Regions from separate parts of the Homo sapiens genome. Here all the other regions are linked to region 1. The links are contacts of gene promoters, found by promoter capture Hi-C in blood cells and fetal thymus (Javierre and others, 2016). All regions are on one chromosome and are shown on one strand. The core of a region is centred on a gene start or on the middle of the fragment in contact, and the rest is flanking DNA. Distances in the headings are between cores, read along the strand shown. Region 1 holds the start of SLC44A1 (solute carrier family 44 member 1). Region 2 overlaps ABCA1 (ATP binding cassette subfamily A member 1). Region 3 overlaps ABCA1 (ATP binding cassette subfamily A member 1). Region 4 overlaps ABCA1 (ATP binding cassette subfamily A member 1).

Region 1 (4,479 bases), core at 1,268-3,767:
AAAATACCAGCCGATTAGTAACATTTCACAAATGAAGAAGGATGCCAAAAATCTCAAATAAGAAAAAAAAAAAAAAATCACCAGCTCTTTGGCACAAAACCTGCTCCTCAATGCTCCACTGAACACTACAAGTCCCTAAAGCTGAACTTAAAAGCATGTGACAGCTGTTGATTGGTTATAGGAATCCACAGGAAAAAAATGCACCCCTTGGGTGCATGACATGCATCTTATCTGTGGAACAAGGCATGTTCTACAGTGAGAGGAGGTAAAAGAAAAGAAAACGTATACGATAGCATTCTGAAAAGTATGACGTGGAGCTAGACAAATGCAAGACCCACTATCGGTTTTAAAGCAGAGTTCTGATGCAGCACCCATCCCTCCCAAATTTAACTGTTCATGCACTGAACAAGCTATCCATAAACTATCAATACTTTTCTGTCTTAAAGGCATTTCACCACCAAAAGGGAATGTAAATTAACTCAATTCTGAAAAGAAAGGCAATCTGAAAAACACCTTTTTGGTGAAAATTATACTTAAGTAAATATTAAAGAGCACCCAACTAGACCCCCACAAATTCCTAACCAGTTGAAAGTTATGTGCAATTCTACACCTTTATATGTTAATATGAAAACTCTGATATACCAAGCCTCTCCTTCCTAACACCTCTACGTATAGTTTTACTTTGCTATTATAACTGAATAGGAATCTTTAACTACACCAAAAAGCCTGACTATAATGCTAGCAGGAAAAAAAAAAGCTAACGGGTAAGCAAACACTCAAAAAAAAAAAAAAAAGACTGGAGGAATAGGATGATAGGATGGATACCTAATAAAACACAAATGTCCCCCATTCATCTGCAATTCTAGTCATTTTCTCTCTAACAGATCTCAGATTTTCAGAACAAGTATGCAGGTTATTTAAAACTGAGTTATATATAGTCATTTAGCAGCAGCAAAAACACTTCTGGCATTATCACAGATGCTAGCTTTCTGGAGGAATTTTTTCCCCCCAAACTAGCGTTTTTCTTCACCAAGAACCAACCATCCTTTATTTCTAAAAACAAGAGCCCTTTTCTGCCCCCTAAAACAAACAAATCACAGACCACAGTTAATGAAACTACGCTAATGAAACTGTGAGATTACATCCCAGGCGTTGTCAGAGCCTATTTTTCATACACCACCACAAGACAGTTTGATGCAGTATTCCTGATTGCTTTTTATAGTATTTGTAAATACACTCGCTAATCCACTAAATTAGGTAATTTACAAACAGGTCCTCTCAGTTATTAGTGGCCAGTAGTCGAGTTCTATTACATTTGATCCTCGTACAGTTGTCTAAACATTTCCACCCAGGTTAAGGGCTCGGATCCGAGAGAAGGAGGTTGGCGAAATTTGGATGGGGGCAGGGTAGAAGCTGAGAGAAATCTCTGCATCTCAGCCCTCAGCGACAACATTCAGCCAGTGCCCACAGAAAAACTAAATTCGGAACCTCTTCCTCCTGTTACACTGGCAACAAAGAGGGAGTTTCCGTAGCGCTCCCGTCACCCACCAGGTGCCCAATCTCCTTCCCAGCCCAGAGTCGGCGCTCCCGCAGGGGCCTCCGAGTGCGGGGAGGCCGCGGGGCCCGGGTCACGGCACTAAGGGGGGATGGGGTGCAAGCGAGCAAGCGAGGTCTGCGGAGCGGGCCGTGGAAGGGCTCCGGGACCCGCTGAAACCATCTGAACCCAGCCAGGGGGCAGCGGGCAAGAGAAAAGGGACAGAATATCTAATGAAGCAGAAACTGGAATTCGGTGGGAGAGGTGAAGAGCTCTTGCTGGGGGTACACCTGCGAGGAGCACAGAAAACGGGCGGCGGATGGCGGGGAGACTCCACGGAGGTGGAAGAGAGGAGCCAGGCCCGGAAGAACAGGGAAGGGGATGCCACCTGGGGCAGAGGAGGCGCCAGTGCAGCCTCTACCTGCAGGCGGGCGGGACGGGCAGCTCAGGTGTGACTGGGAGGAGGGGGCCGACTGGGGAAGGGGCCGGGAAGAGCTGAGGGCGCACTAGGCGCCGCGCAGAGGCGCCTTTGAGTCGGCAGCCGCGGAGCCAGCGCACGGGCATCGGCGGGACCCGGCGGACGGAAAGGCGGAGTGGGGGTCTTTGGACTGCACGGTGCGCTCAGGGGAGGCTGGGGACAGCGAGAGGTATCGGGCGGCGGGCGCCCGCCGCGCGACGCGGCGCACGGGAGGCATCCGGGCGGGCGGCCGGGAGGCGGGAGCCCCTCACCTGCGCGGCGGAGGAGGCGGAGCTGCAGCAGCCCATGGCGGGGCCGAAGGAGCCCGGAGGCGGCGCCGGGCGCGCAGCTACGCCCCGGAGCCCCTCGGCATGCGAGCCGGCGGGCGCCCGGGGAGGGCGCGGCCTGGCACCGCACGGCTAGGCGGCGGCGGCGGCTGCAGCGGCGGCTGGTACTCAAGAGGCGGCGCGGCTAGAGGCAGGCGCCGGCCACATCCCCCGGCGGCGGCGACGGCGGCTACGCGTCTCCTGCTCTGCTCCTGCTGCAGCAGCTGCTCCCCAGCGGAAAGGGGCGGGCGGCGGCGGCGGCGGCGCCTCCCTCTGTCCCCCCGCCTCCCGCCTCCCGCGCCCAGTCCCTCTCCCGCTCCCTCTCCCGGGCCGCCGCCTCCTCAGCGCCGCGCGCGTCTCCCATCAGACTCCCCGCCCCCAGTGCAGCGCCGTGCTGGTGGCAGGGCGGCGGCAGCCAGAACAAGGCCGGGCCCTTCCGCGCGTGTCAGAGGCTGCGCGGCGCCGGGCTTATTTAGCTGTGGCACCGAGGCAGCTCTCTGCCTCGAGGCTGGAGGGCAACGCGGTCTGAGGCAGCCAAAGACCGGGCCAACTCGCTGCCAAAAAGGGGCCGGATTGCTTCCGGATCTAGGAGGCAAGCGGGACTTCTCCCTCTCCCTACTGGACGCACAACTCAGGATCCTGATGGCTTCTTACCGCCCCGTCGGCTGTTTTTTTTCTCCAGAGGAAAGCGTACACAAGAAACCTTTCCTGGAGAAGGAATAGGTGATAAGAAGACGGGAAGAAACAAGCATCTGTTGCTACTGTCCCCATTTTGCTGATGTGGAAACTGAGGCTTGAAAGGGACCAAGAACCTAATGAAATGTTCCCAAGGTTGAAATGGTAATAAATAGCCAGAAATGAGGAAAAGGCAAAAAGTTATCCAGGCTCGCAAGTCAAAGCCATACTGGATCTAAGCTAAACTTTCTTATACAGGATAGTCTACAAAAAACAATAAGGGGACATTAATTTATTCATATTAAAAATACTTACTGAAGACACACTACGTTCCAGTGACTAGTACTGGGAATAAAGAGGCGAGCAAAAGAGACTTACCAAGTTCCTGTTGCTAAATCAGTAAGACTCAAGGAAGTAGCAACAAGTTAGAGTAGACGTGGTAACTACCTTCAAGAAATTTACAATTCCAAACGAGTCGTTAGGAAATACAGTATGAGGTGAAAACAGTTAAAAAGTGAAAGAAATAAAACTAAAGATAATGATGTTAAAAAAAACCCCACATTATCAGGCACTGTTATAGCCTTCATATGTCATTTCATCTTGTCAAAGAATGTCTCAAAAGACAGCCACAGGAAAGAAAAGAAAAACTTTATTTGCAAAGCTGCAAGGGAGTGAGACTTCCAAAAGGACTGATTCACCAAATATGAGACATCAAGTTTTAAAGATTAGTTAAAGTATAGAGGGAAGAAAAGAACACAGAATTAAATTGACTTTACATGCACTGAAAGGGAATCTAAGCCAAGGAAAGTTGGAATGGTAGCCTGTAAGGGGACAGCTACAGAAAGGGCCAGGGAAGAAGAATTCCTAATTGATGTTTTCCTATGCCATTTCCTGAGTTCGTGACTGTGGACGAGTTATCTCTCCAAATCTCATTGTCCGCTTCTGTGAAATGCTGGTAGCAGGGATGACTGCAAAGGCTTGTGGTCAAGATTAAATAACATAAGAAAGTGCTGCTAGGTCAGCAAGTACTCAACTGATTGAGATCTTGAATTCTTCTGCATTCTTTCTAGTTTCCTTTCAGGTTAATCAGAGGGTCCACCATACCACGGAGCTGGCGAATCCTACATGTGTTTCCCATAACCATTAAACCAATAAATACAAGTGAAGACATAAAACTAATGGTTCTAGTCCCAATTCTGGTTGTAAACTCCAGAATTAGATTGTAAACTCCCTGAGAACAAGGAAAAGTATTTTCTCCTTTGTATCTCCCTCAGCTCTCTCAAATGTTTGTTGAATTATTCAGTGCAGCCAAGAATAAAAAACATTCCCTTGAGATTTTCCCTCAAAGCCAGAAAAGTACATCTTGTTTTTAACTCGGGGAGGAGGCTGAAAGTAAAACTACAGTCCTAAACAAGAAGCCATCTGTCTTCCTTCTTTATAGTCAAGGAAAGGGGAGTTGTTTCTCTTTGCAGAGTCAATATGGGAGC
Region 2 (4,479 bases), core at 1,206-3,705, 390 kb after region 1:
CAGGGATCTTTGCAACCCTAAGTAACTGGCCTAAAAAGTTAGAGAAGCTGACTTGTGCAGACATTTGCAGCCTGTTGGTCTTTTTTGTGCTGTGAATCATAGAGGGTGAAAGGTTATTATGAATGGTACAAAACTTTGTTACAAAACCATTTTCTTGGACTGTTTTGGGCTGCTTCACTGCATGACAAATGCTCACCCTTTCAGCTGGAATGATTGAAATTTTGGAAAAGATGGGTGTTTTTAGAAGACATTGTAATTTGTTCCGGTGCTGTGCCCATTCATTCCATTTCACTTCTGTTTACTCATTAAACACCTATTGTGTACACAACCCGGTAAAATCCCTCCACTCACACAATGCCTGAATTATACTCATAGTAGAATGACTGTTTAGCCCTCATCATCTGATAATTAACAGCTCAGGTTTCAACCTGACAGTATCTCTCTGGGAGGATTAGCAGCGTGACAGAGTGCAGGGAAATGCACCTTCAGAACCGTCAGCTACACTGTGTCCCATCCTGCTGTGTTGTGGTTGTGCCTTGTGGATGCGTTGGTTTATGACCAGGTATTGATTAAGGTGGCTACTACCAGGTGCTTTCTGCATATCTCGGGTTTGTGGAGCACTCAGGTTCTGCTTCTGCCCCTCTGCTGTTACCAAGAGACCTCTCTTCAAAATGGGGCTCTTGAGTTAGAGTAGAATGAGTGATCAGGATTGTTTTGTGTAAAGATGATTTCTGAGGAAGGCTTTAGGATGAAATGACTTCCAAACATTTTGAAATGTGACTCTTACTTATTGAATTAAGCAGGGCCTTAATTGGAATGCTGGGACTGATACTTGATTTGCATTAAGCAGCCTTTTTCTATTGCTGCTTGGTTGAAATTTCAACATTTGTGATGGTAGATGGATGTGACATGTGATGACATTGCACATGGGCAGTTAACTGTGCCAAGAAGTGCAGCAGTAGCAGCAACCGGAGATGCAAAGCCCAACATGATGGGGAGAGAAACTCTTCTTTCAATATGTGCTTCTGTACCAAAAGTGGAATTTCACGAGAGACATATTTTGAAACATTTCTCCTTTTGTGTGTGCGTGAGTGTTTCCCTGTTTCCAGCCAAGGGTATTGTGAGTTTCTCCTGGGCCTCCTTCAGAATCTGGGTGCTCTGGAAAGCAGTGTTTTGGCAACATGGGGAAAGTATGGCAGTGTGGGAGGGTCAGCTGGGTCTGGGTTTGAATATTGCATTTGAATATTTTACCAGCATTGATGTCGGATAAATTATTTAGTCCCTGTAAGCCTCAGTTTTCTCTTCTTCTACATACACATAATATATTTGACTCTTTGTTGTGATTATTGGTTACACATATGAAGAGCCTGGTGTGGGGCCTGGCACACAATAGGTGCTCAATAAATAGAAGTTGATAATTTAATTGACATGAGTAGTAGAAATTATGTCCTTGAAAACAATTGCGTCAAGATAGAAGTTTTCAGCCAGGCACAGTGGCTCACATCTGTTGTAATCCCAGCATATTGTGGGGGCCGAGGCGGATGAATCACTTGAGGCCAGGAGTTCAAGACCAGCCTGGCCAACGTGGTGAAATCCCCTCTCTACTAAAAATACACATATTTGCCAGGCAGGCGTGGTGGCGCACACCTGTAATCCCAGCTACTGAAGAGGCTGAGGCACAAGAATCGCTTGAACCCAGGAGGTGGAAGTTGCAGTGAGCTGAGATCACTCCACTGCATTCCAGCCAGCGTGACAGAGTGAGACTCTGTCTCAGAAAAAGAAAAAAAAGATAGAAGTTTTCTTCTGTAGATCAGTGTTAGAACTCATACCAAGCGAAGTGGTCCTGGTGAGTATTTCAGTGAAAAACTGCATTCTTGCTCAGATATTGTCAAGACTTTTCACCCAAAGATTCTTATTTATGTCTCAGTCCGTACCTTGTGTGAAAATTAATACTGGATGTCAGAACGCTGTTGTGTTTTTAAAGTTCCCTGGGGTTAAGAGCAGTTTCCATTAGGTGTTCTCTGCTTTTTACTTAAAAATCTTACTCATGCATTGAGCAATATTTATTCAGTTCTTATTATGTGTCAGGTATTTTCTAGGAGCTGGACTCAACTCAAAAGATATCCTTTTGATGAGAACAAAGGTGGGTGGATATATGAAATATTATCTGTGGGATAAATGCACTTAGTCATGAGGGAGACTTGTTATGGAGTGCGCTCATTGTATTTGTACTGTTGAGTTAACAACTTCTAGGAGGAGCTCAGGGCCACCTGGCAGGGGCTTCTTTTGTCTTGCTGCTCAGCAAGGTGTATTTTGCTGTAGAGTGTGCTGGGCAGGTGAACTTTTCTTAACTTTCTCTTGGGTCCTTCCTAAAGCAGCATGTACCTTTCCCAGAGCGAGGAGAGGGCCACCTTCCTGTCTCACAGAAACCTCCAATCTGTTTTGGACTGCAGGAAGGAGCCATAGTAGTGGACCAGCAAATTTTGGCCCGAGAGATTGATTTGCTTCCGATTGTACTTTTTTTTTTTATTGCTACTATAACAAGTCACCAAATACTTAGCAGTTTATAACCACATACATTTATTATTTCATAAGGCCAGAAGCCAGGATACAGTAGAGCTCACCTAGGTCTACTTCTTAGAGGCTCACAGGGCTGATATCAAGGTGTTTGTGGGGCTGTGTTTTTTTGGGGGGGCTCTGAAGATGAATCTGCTTTGGAGCTCATCCAGGATATCAGATGAATTCAGTCCCGTGCAGTTGTAGGACTGAAGTCCATTTCCTTGCTGGCTGTCAGCAGGGGCTGGTTTTTGCTCCTAAAGGTTGCCATCATTCCTTCTTATGCTTTTCATGTGACTCCTCTCCCACAAGTGGGTTGAGTATCTCTCACACTTTAAACCTCTGACGCCTCCTGTCACATCTGTCTCCAGTCAGAGAAAGTTCTTTACTTTTAAGGGCTCAGGTGTTTAGTTTGGGCCCATTCACATAATCCAGGATAATCTCCTTATTTTGAGGTTCATAACTTTAATTACATCTACACAGTGCATTTGCTATGAAATGTGCATATTCACAGACTCCAGGAATAGGGTGTGGACATCTTTGCAGGGGATATTCAGTCTGCTGTAGCTTTCTTGATTGGAAGGAATAGTTTATCATATATTTGAAGTGTTCCCTCAGTGCCTTTGGCTTTTGTTGACCCCTCTGCAGCTCTCTGCTTTTTCTTGCCCATATTTGGAAAGTGACTCTAAAGCATAATAAGCATCACCTATTAGGGTTTTTAATGTACAAACCAAACAGAGGTGACTTTGGGAGGAGAACATCTCTGAACTAGGTATGAGACATTCATCGAAAAAAATCCATCAAGTGTTTATTGTATGTCTGCTTTATACCAGCACTGTTCTAGGCACTGAAGTTCGACCACCAACAAGGCAGTTGTGATGCACTTGGAGCTTTCATTCTGATGGGCATTGAGATCCAGGCTGAAGGCTGAGTCTGGGAATTTGAGGAATTCTTTGTAGGTCCTGGGTCTACAGAGTGAGAGCTGTCCTCGTTCCAGTTTCACTGATGACCTCTCGACCAGCTCCCTCACAGCAGTCTTTGCCAACACAGACACTGTGGGCTGTAGTGGGAGGAATGTGGGGTTGAATGAGCTAGGTTTGGGCTCTGTCCTTGACTCACCATTGCCTCAGTGATGTGAAAATGGTGTCTGATCCTTAAGGTTGGAAGTCCAGGCATGCAGATTTATCTCCATCTCAATAACGTGGGGAAAAAAAAGAAGTGGTTTTTGTGGAACCAGTGGTTCCACTGTCCACGTGTCTTCCAGTGTGCCTAGCACATTCCCACCAAGTGGATCTTGGTTCATGAGGGAAAGAAGGGAAAGTGAGGGTGCCCCGAGGCTCCCAGAAGACAAGTAATGTCACAGCTGAGCTGTGTACAGATCGAAGAAGCAGATGGATAAGGAGTGAACAAAGTCATCCTTGTCTTGAGGGGTCTTTATTTAGCTTCTTCTTGACTCTTAGACAAGGACCCAGAATACAGATGGGGCTTGTTGTTACCTTCAGCCTCATGGCTTTTTAGGGCTAGATACTTCAGCTTGTTACATGCAGTCCTTAAAGCGTCTGTGTGGGTTTTTGCAGGAGAGAACACTTGCTCGTGTTCTCCTGTCTGGAACCCGGACATTGTTGGAAAGTATCAGATTTTGTTTGGCTTTGTGTGATTTGACTGCCCACCTGTTTACTTGCTTTCTCCCAGCAAGCAGCCGCAATCCCCATGGGTTGGTAATGGGTGGAATGACACACTGTGTAGATTTACTCTTCAGACTCTATGTTCACCTCATTCTTATGGGAAAAGAAGAGCACTAGCTGGTAGATATAGCAGTGTGTTAATATGACTGCTCAACTCCATTTACACAGACATTTTCACCTTAGTTATACTATTTCTTCATTAAATATTGTTGCCAGATCTAAGATACAGGTTTAATTT
Region 3 (4,479 bases), core at 570-3,069, 370 kb after region 1:
CACTTCCCAGAAGGGGCGGCCGGGCAGAGGCGCCCCCCACCTCCCGGACGGGGCGGCTGGCCGGGCGGGGGCTGCCCCCCACCTCCCTCCCGGACGGGGTGGCTGGCCGGGCGGGGGCTGGCCCCCACCTCCCTCCCGGACGGGGCGGCTGGCCGGGCGGGGGCTGCCCCCCACCTCCCTCCCGGACGGGGCGGCTGGCTGCCCTGCTAATTTTTGTATTTTCAGTAGAGATGGGGTTTTACCATGTTGGTCAGGCTGGTCTCGAACTCCTGACCTGTTGATCCACCTGCCTCAGCCTCCCAAAGTGTTGAGATTACAGGCATGAGCCACTGCGCCCGGCTCTGTTTTTTTGTTTGTTTGTTTGTTTTTGTTTTTGTTTTGAGACGGAGTCTTACTCTGTTGCCCAGGCTGGAGTGAGTGGAGCGGCACGATCTTGGTTCACTGCAACCTCTGCCTCCCGGGTTCAAACAATTCTTCCTGCCTCAGCCTCCCGAATAGCTGGGATTACAGGCACTTACCACCAGGCCTGGCTAATTTTTGTATTTTTTAGTAGAGACGGGGTTTTGCCATGTTGGCCATTTGAACTCCTGACCATCTTTGAACTCCTGACCATGTTTGCCATGTTGAACTCTTGACTTCAGGTGCGTTGGCCTCCCAAAGTGCTGGGATTACAGGTGTGAGCCACCATGCCCAGCCTGTTTGGCCTTTCTGATATGGCTCTGACTAATCTTTTTGGAAATTAGTCCCCAGGGTTATACTGGATTTTACTTAGGGAAAAGGGTCATGCCTCTCTGGCTGTCAGATTTACTGATAGTACTAAGGACTCAGTGGGGTGGACCTTTGATTCTGGTTTGATTTTTGAAAATCAAAAAGACGTGAGCTCCAGGGAGCAGGGTGGCTTTGGTGACATGGCAAGATAGTTGGCTGTGGCAGGGAGTTGAGGGAAGTGGGTAGAAAATTAACATCTTGTAAATATTCCCTGGGAAATATACCTTCGTGTTAAGAGAACAGACTTGGCAGCCAGATGGCCTAGGTTCAAATCTTGGCTTGATGCTTATCAGCTGTGTAACCTTGGATAATTCCATACATCTCTGTGCCTCAGTTTCCTCAAATGGAATAACAATAGTACCTCCCTCAGGACTATTGTGGCAAATTAATGGACGAATAAGGGGAAGCACTTAGTACAGTGCCTGGCCCAGCATAGGTACCAGGCTTGTTCTTAAGCTCACTGCATTTTTACAATCATCATAAAATGCAGGGGATACACACATGAAGGAGCCGAAGTTCAGAGAGGCCAAGTAACTTGCCTAAGAAAGCACAGCTGGCAAGGGGCAGTAATAGGACCAGAATTCCAGTTTCTCGTGCTCTGTTGTTGTTATATCCTAAAGAGAGCAGCTCTGAGTAGCCAGAAGCTTCCCTAAAGTCACAGGACATGGGGCATGGGCTGGCTGGGATGAGAAAGGAGACAAGAGGGCTTCTGAAAGAAATGCCAGATTCACTCCACTTCCTGGCTTCAGGCACCGATGGAATGTTTCCCAAGGCCCATCTAGAAAGAACATCCTGTGACTCACAGCCACTTCTCATTTTCTGTCTGAACCCCCTCACCCATTCAGGCAGCTGCTAAAGTTGAGGTTACAGCCTCAGACTATATTTTCTGTCCTTGTGGAACCCCAGTGTGTCATCTTGTTGGGAGATCTGGTGATACATGTGTCAACATTATGTCATCAAAATGGAAATTCTTTGAAATCTTTAGGTGATTGCAATTCACGTTCTGTATGTATGCACTTGTCAAAAGTTTTGATTTGAGGCCTTAGAATTTTATATTTGGAAACCTTTCCACTACCATGAGTTTTCCCAGACCTGTCAAAGCCAGGCTGCATCTCAGAAACCAGGTCTTTGATTTCCATCCAGGGCAAGGGCCTGGGCCCAGCTGGGCTGTAAGCAGGTGGGGGTGGGGAGCAACGCTGCACTGCAATGTTGAAATATTACTTGAACTAAATCAAATCAAAGATCAGCTTTACTCAGACAAGAATAGAAAACACAATTGCATTCGATTACAGAATAGTGTGTATCCCCACAAATATCAGACTGCCTTTAAAAAGTTTTGAATTGTTAACATCAAGAACAGTGTTGCGTGTCTCCTGCTTTTCCAGCATAAGGTTTATTTATTCTGTGGGTGGCAAAGAGCAATTTGGGAGTCCAGTTTGTTTCTCATTGAAAGCTTTCCCATTTCTGGTCCTCTTGTCACTGTTGCATTGAGGCACCAAAAGGCAATCTCAGTGCGACACTATTCAACAGACTAAGTTGCACCGGATAATGATACCATTTTACATTTTTCATATATTATTACATTGAAGGCTTCAAACAGCACTAGCAGGGGCAAATTGGTATTATTATCTCCATTTCATTGATGAGGAAACCGAGGCTCGAAAGGGTAATGTCTGTTGTCCAAGATTAAAGAGTAAAGTTGTACGTTGAATCGGGGTCTGACTCCTAGGCTTAGCATTTTCTCCCCACACTATGCTGCCATGTTGCTTATTCCAACATTAGGAAGCATAGGTGCCATCCCCAGCTTTTGAGGCCAATATCACGATGAAGCATTTTTAAAACATCTCATTAAATTGCTGATATAGTGGAAAGAACCAAAGCTTTGCAGTCAAAGCTGTTTGGGTTCAAATTTACCACTTGTTTGTTCTATGACCCTGAGCAAGATATTCTCCAGATCTGTTTCCTCATTTGAAAAATGGGAATAATAATACGTTTCTTTATAGGCTGTTCTTAAAGATTCTGGAAAATAATGCTAATAGTGTGCCTAATGCTTGGTAAATATGAGTCACTTTTCTGTGCCCACAAAGCACTACTATGTCCCTTAATAAATTTTGTTAATTTTAAAAGTTAGAAAAAAATTAAACTATTTATACATTGTGTATGTTAATTCTTCCCTAGACCAGCCTTAGGAAGAATCTCATCCCCAACTTGTAAACTCATCTTTTTCCGTTCTTTTTGTGCCTGGACTTCTCAGGGCCCTGCAGGCTGATTCTAGTCCCATGTTGTGTGGTGTTTGAAGTGTCTGGTCCCTTTTTTCAGTGAGAGACCAGCTCATCCTTGGGAACTGAATGCCTCAAACTCTCTTTTCTTTTTCTCTCTTCCCCTTCTGTTTGATGTAGTCTTTCCTGTTTCTGGACTCTGTTTCTTCATACTTCCTATCTCTTACCTTCTTTTCACTCCTTTTGTCTTCCAGCTGTCCTCTCTCATTTTTCTGCCTCTCTGGTCTTCAGGTAGAGTTTTCATCTCAGCTATCTTCTTGCTTTTTCTGATGTTGGTTCTTTGTTTCTTCTTCTCATTCTGTTCAGGTCCAAAATTCATTTGGGTCAATGTTATGTCTTAGTGTTATCTTCCATTTCCTTCTGAGCTTCAAAGCCAGGCTGACTGTGCCCTTCCACGCCCTGGCCAGTGTGACCAGGACATCCTTTCCCTCTGGGGCTGCACTGGCTCTTTGGGGGAATTGTTACCATTCAGGGTCTTCAACCCTCATTCTAGGGACTTCCAGTAACTTCTCCCACCTTCCCTCTTCTCAGTAAGACATGGGTATTGTCTTATTCTGTTTCTGCTGCTAGAAGAAAATTCTCGAGACTGAGTAATTTATACACAATAGAAATTTACTTCTCACAGTTCTGGAGGCTGGGAAATCCAAAATCAAGGTGTTGGCAGGTTTGGTGTCTGGTGAGGGCTGCTCTCTGCTTCTAAGATGGTGCCTTGTTGCTGCATCCTTAGGAGGGGACAAACGCCATTTCCTCAACTGGCAGAAGGGACTGAAGCCTCTCCCTCAAGCCCTTTTATAGGGGTCCTCATTGTCAGGCCTCTAAGCCCAAGCCAAGCCATCGCATCCCCTGTGACTTGCACATATACGCCCAGATGGCCTGAAGTAACTGAAGAATCACAAAAGAAGTGAAAAGGCCCTGCCTCGCCTTAACTGATGACGTTCCACCATTGTGATTTGTTCCTGCCCCACCTTAACTGAGTGATTAACCCTGTGAATTTCCTTCTCCTGGCTCAGAAGCTCCCCCACTGAGCACCTTGTGACCCCCTGCCCCTGCCCACCAGAGAACAACCCCCTTTGACTGTAATTTTCCATTACCTTCCCAAATCCTATAAAACGGCCCCACCCCTATCTCCCTTTGCTGACTCTCTTTTCGGACTCAGCCCACCTGCAGCCAGGTGAAAAAAACAGCTTTATTGCTCACACAAAGCCTGTTTGGTGGTCTCTTCACACAGACGCACATGAAACTCATGGTATCTGTGAGGGGCCCTAATGCTATTGGTGAGGGCACTGCTCACATAACTTAATCACCCCTTAAAGGCCCTGCCTCTTAATACTGTCACATTGGTGATGAAGTTTCAATGTATGAACTTTGAGGGGGGACACGTTCAAATCATAGCAGGTGTGCTATTGCCTTACTAGCAAAGTAATCTGGGGGA
Region 4 (4,479 bases), core at 1,386-3,885, 340 kb after region 1:
TTCAGGATGTCCCAGGAGTCACCTGGGAAGCTCAGCAGTCCTTTGTGACTTTCAAGCATATGGTAGAAGCTGCTGAACACAGAGCTCCCTCTTTGGGGATAATTTGCCCAAATCATTTAATCAGGCTTGAGAAATGAGTTACCACAGGTCCAGGAGTGCTGCCACCCTTGAATTCTGACACCCTATTTCTCCTATCCGTCTCTTAATTAATTAAGCAGACATCCCCAAGTGCTTACGACAAGCCAGGACCCTTTTGCATACTAAGGAAAACAGGGATGAAGGAAACAGAAATGGTCTCTGCTCTGACTCAGAAGGTAGAAATCCTCTTTCCCAGCCAAGTCTTCCTAGGGAGCACGTAGGAAGGGCTCTGAACCCACGTGTCAGTTGCAGGGGAGGATATCAGGAAAGGACATTGAAGAAGTGGAGACCTAAGTTTGAGACCTAGGCATTAGCCAGGCTAGCAGTGCTTGAAAAAGTGTCTTAGGACAAGAGAACTCACCAGTGAAGTCCCAGTGGTAGGAGAGCGTGCAGCATATTCTGAGCCTGTATACACATCTCCAGGGCATTGCTTAGCAGGTGGGGAGTGGCAAGAGAGTAGGCTGGAGTCACAGAAGGGAGGCCAGGTAGACCTTGGTGAGCACTGGACTCTATGTTCAGGTGCTGAGGAGCTGGCAAAAGGTTTTAAGTCGGGGAGAGGCATGTTCAGATATTTGGTCTAGCTGAGTAACTTTGGGTGCTCTGTGACAAATGGTTGGGAGACCAGTGAGGTGGCAGTTGCGGTCATCTAGGAGCAGGATCAGAGTGGCCTATTGACTGGGATGACTGTGAAGTGGGATCCTTTCCAGCCAGTAACTGGAAATGTGTATGAGGGCAGAAGTGAGTGTACTGCATTTGAAACATTGAGAAATCTAGTACATAGTACTGTCTCTTTTATATCTTTTTTTTTTTTTTTTTTGATTTTGGTTTGTTTGTTCACTAACTTGGAAAACTGATGTGGAAATGTCCCTTTGGCTTCAGTTACCTGAGCAGAAGGGGCCGGGCATTGCCAAACTCTCCTCTTAGGACAGAATTGCTCCCAGTATTGATCATTGTGTTCTGAGTTGGGGGAGCAAATTGTGCAGGAGGCCAGGTCAGTGCCAAGGTGGGTGGGAGGAATTGGAGCAGGAAGCTTGCCTAAGTGTGCCCAGCAAAGCCACGGTAGAACTTTCTACTGTGGCTCTATGCTACTTCTTAGCAACCTTCTCCATGTGCTTCCTGGAGAGTCCTTGGAGTCAGAACCTTTTTCTTGAAACCCAGACACTTTACTTCCAAGAAAATGCTGTCCAAGAAAACTCATCCTTCCCTTCTTCTCATGAACGTTGTGTAGAGGTGTGTCTTCTCTTCCTTTGAGCTTTTCCACTCAGGGTTTAGGGGAGGTGATATTCTATATTTGGGTTTGGCTCTGGGTACTGCAACACTAGGCTATTAAGATTTCATCCTTACTGCTTTGCCCCTCCTATCTTTCCAGAAACCCACAATGGATTTGCTAGAAATAATGGAACGTCCTGTTTGGACAGGATATAACCATTTCTCAGCTAGAGGATATTGTTGGAATGAAGAAAGATAAATGGGGAGAAGGGAACTCACATTGCTTTGGCACTTAAATTAAGCCATGTACTGTGTTGGGAAATTATTTATATTATCTCGTTGAATCCACAGTAGAACACAGTTGAACACCATACAAGGTAAGTATTGTCATCCTTATTTTACCATGAGGAAATTGATGCTTAGAGAGCATAAAGCCTTGGCCAGGGGCACATAGTTGGGAAGCCGGGGCTAATTCATGCCTGGGCTCTTTCTGATAGTTTTCCTTTTTTAATTGTCCCCTCCTCATTGTTACCTTGGGGATTTCAAGAGATTCATGTAGCTTCTAAATCAACGAACTGATTCCTGGAGAGCAGCTTCTGTATGAGAAAAATCTAGCTAATTATTTATTTCAGTGTCTCTGGAATGCAAGCTCTGTCCTGAGCCACTTAGAAAACAATTTGGGATGACAAGCATGTGTCTCACAATGCTGCTCTGGTTGCCAGTGCTGTGCTGCCAGTTGTCATCTTTGAACAAACTGATGCAGTGCTGGTTTAACTCTTCCTCTTTTTGGAGTAAGAAACTTTGGAGGCCTGTGTCCTTCTAGAAGTTTGCTGAGCAAATGGTAAGGAAAAGAAATAGGTCCTAAGGCTTGACTATTTCAGAGAATTTCTTGATTTATTGGACTGTCAATGAATGAATTGGAATACATAGTGGTAGGCTGTCTTTTCTTCTCAGACACTGCAATTTCCTCCAATCTCTTGACTTTTCTAGAAGTTTTAATCCAAGTCCTTGTTGGGTGGTAGATAAAAGGGTATTGTTCTACTAGAGACTGACCTTGGCATGGAGATCTCATTTGGACTCACAGATTTCTAGTCTAGCGCTTGGTTTTGTATCCATACCTCGCTACTGCATTCTTAGTTCCTTCTGCTCCTTGTTCCTCATGCCCAGTGTCCCACCCTACCCTTGCCCCTACTCCTCTAGAGGCCACAGTGATTCACTGAGCCATTTCATAAGCACAGCTAGGAGAGTTCATGGCTACCAAGTGCCAGCAGGGCCGAATTTTCACCTGTGTGTCCTCCCTTCCATTTTTCATCTTCTGCCCCCTCCCCAGCTTTAACTTTAATATAACTACTTGGGACTATTCCAGCATTAAATAAGGGTAACTGCTGGATGGGTGGCTGGGATACACAGAATGTAGTATCCCTTGTTCACGAGAAGACCTTCTTGCCCTAGCATGGCAAACAGTCCTCCAAGGAGGCACCTGTGACACCCAACGGAGTAGGGGGGCGGTGTGTTCAGGTGCAGGTGGAACAAGGCCAGAAGTGTGCATATGTGCTGACCATGGGAGCTTGTTTGTCGGTTTCACAGTTGATGCCCTGAGCCTGCCATAGCAGACTTGTTTCTCCATGGGATGCTGTTTTCTTTCCAGAGACACAGCGCTAGGGTTGTCCTCATTACCTGAGAGCCAGGTGTCGGTAGCATTTTCTTGGTGTTTACTCACACTCATCTAAGGCACGTTGTGGTTTTCCAGATTAGGAAACTGCTTTATTGATGGTGCTTTTTTTTTTTTTTTTTGAGACAGAGTCTCGCTCTGTCGCCATGCTGGAGTGTAGTGGCACAATCTTGGCTCACTGCACCTCCGCCTGCCAGGTTCAGCGATTCTCCTGCCTCAGCCTCCCAAGTAGCTGGGACTACAGGTGCCTGCCACCATGCCCAGCTAATTTTTGTATTTTTAGTAGAGACGGGGTTTCACCGTATTGGCTAGGATGGTCTCGATTTCTTGACCTCGTGATCCGCCTGCCTCGGCCTCCCAAAGTGCTGGGATTATAGGCTTGAGCCACCACGCCTGGCCGATGGTGCTTTTTATCATTTGAAGGACTCAGTTGTATAACCCACTGAAAATTAGTATGTAAGGAAGTTCAGGGAATAGTATAAGTCACTCCAGGCTTGAGGCAAAATTTACAAATGCTGCTGACTTTGTATGTAAGGGGAGGCATTTTCTTAGAAAAGAGAGGTAGGTCTCTGGGATTCCAGTATGCCATTTCCATCCTCAGTGTTTTTGGCCACCTGAGAGAGGTCTATTTTCAGAAATGCATTCTTCATTCCCAGATGATAACATCTATAGAACTAAAATGATTAGGACCATAACACGTAGCTCCTAGCCTGCTGTCGGAACACCTCCCGAGTCCCTCTTTGTGGGTGAACCCAGAGGCTGGGAGCTGGTGACTCATGATCCATTGAGAAGCAGTCATGATGCAGAGCTGTGTGTTGGAGGTCTCAGCTGAGAGGGCTGGATTAGCAGTCCTCATTGGTGTATGGCTTTGCAGCAATAACTGATGGCTGTTTCCCCTCCTGCTTTATCTTTCAGTTAATGACCAGCCACGGCGTCCCTGCTGTGAGCTCTGGCCGCTGCCTTCCAGGGCTCCCGAGCCACACGCTGGGGGTGCTGGCTGAGGGAACATGGCTTGTTGGCCTCAGCTGAGGTTGCTGCTGTGGAAGAACCTCACTTTCAGAAGAAGACAAACAGTAAGCTTGGGTTTTTCAGCAGCGGGGGGTTCTCTCATTTTTTCTTTGTGGTTTTGAGTTGGGGATTGGAGGAGGGAGGGAGGGAAGGAAGCTGTGTTGGTTTTCACACAGGGATTGATGGAATCTGGCTCTTATGGACACAGGACTGTGTGGTCCGGATATGGCATGTGGCTTATCATAGAGGGCAGATTTGCAGCCAGGTAGAAATAGTAGCTTTGGTTTGTGCTACTGCCCAGGCATGAGTTCTGATCCCTAGGACCTGGCTCCGAATCGCCCCTGAGCACCCCACTTTTTCCTTTTGCTGCAGCCCTGGGAGCCACCTGGCTCTCCAAAAGCCCCTAATGGGCCCCTGTATTTCTGGAAGCTGTGGGTGAAGTGAGTTAGTGG

The links. The method cuts DNA at HindIII sites, captures the fragments that hold promoters and counts their contacts. A CHiCAGO score of 5 or more calls a contact.
Region 2: a fragment that was not itself captured here is called in contact with the fragment with the promoter of SLC44A1 in region 1 in 1 of 17 cell types (monocytes); the score reaches 5.3 in monocytes.
Region 3: a contact is called between a fragment that was not itself captured here and the fragment with the promoter of SLC44A1 in region 1, in 1 of 17 cell types (monocytes). The highest score is 7.3, in monocytes.
Region 4: a contact is called between a fragment that was not itself captured here and the fragment with the promoter of SLC44A1 in region 1, in 1 of 17 cell types (neutrophils). The highest score is 5.9, in neutrophils.

The regions. Positions count from the first base shown.
Region 1 is chr9:105,242,689-105,247,167 of GRCh38, reverse strand. SLC44A1 (solute carrier family 44 member 1) reads right to left here and starts at 2,517. Exons shown (of 16, transcript NM_080546.5): 1 at 2,264-2,517. The coding sequence starts at 2,299. LOC112268038 (a long non-coding RNA gene) reads left to right here and starts at 1,575. Exons shown (of 3, transcript XR_002956866.2): 1 at 1,575-2,149. RefSeq lists silencers at 1,575-1,654, 1,995-2,134, 2,145-2,744 and enhancers at 1,067-1,970, 1,971-2,875. The HindIII fragment of the contact is 7,272 bases long and covers 1-4,479 here.
Region 2 is chr9:104,852,508-104,856,986 of GRCh38, reverse strand. All of the region lies in intron 7 of ABCA1 (ATP binding cassette subfamily A member 1), which reads left to right. Among named protein-coding and RNA genes, the nearest start is that of ABCA1, 73 kb to the left of the region's middle. The HindIII fragment of the contact is 9,731 bases long and covers 1-4,479 here.
Region 3 is chr9:104,870,471-104,874,949 of GRCh38, reverse strand. The region is part of intron 5 of ABCA1 (ATP binding cassette subfamily A member 1); the gene reads left to right. Among named protein-coding and RNA genes, the nearest start is that of ABCA1, 55 kb to the left of the region's middle. The HindIII fragment of the contact is 809 bases long and covers 1,415-2,223 here.
Region 4 is chr9:104,903,227-104,907,705 of GRCh38, reverse strand. It overlaps ABCA1 (ATP binding cassette subfamily A member 1), which reads left to right. Exons shown (of 50, transcript NM_005502.4): 2 at 3,935-4,092. The coding sequence starts at 4,027. Among named protein-coding and RNA genes, the nearest start is that of ABCA1, 23 kb to the left of the region's middle. RefSeq lists an enhancer at 3,621-4,479. The HindIII fragment of the contact is 2,929 bases long and covers 1,171-4,099 here.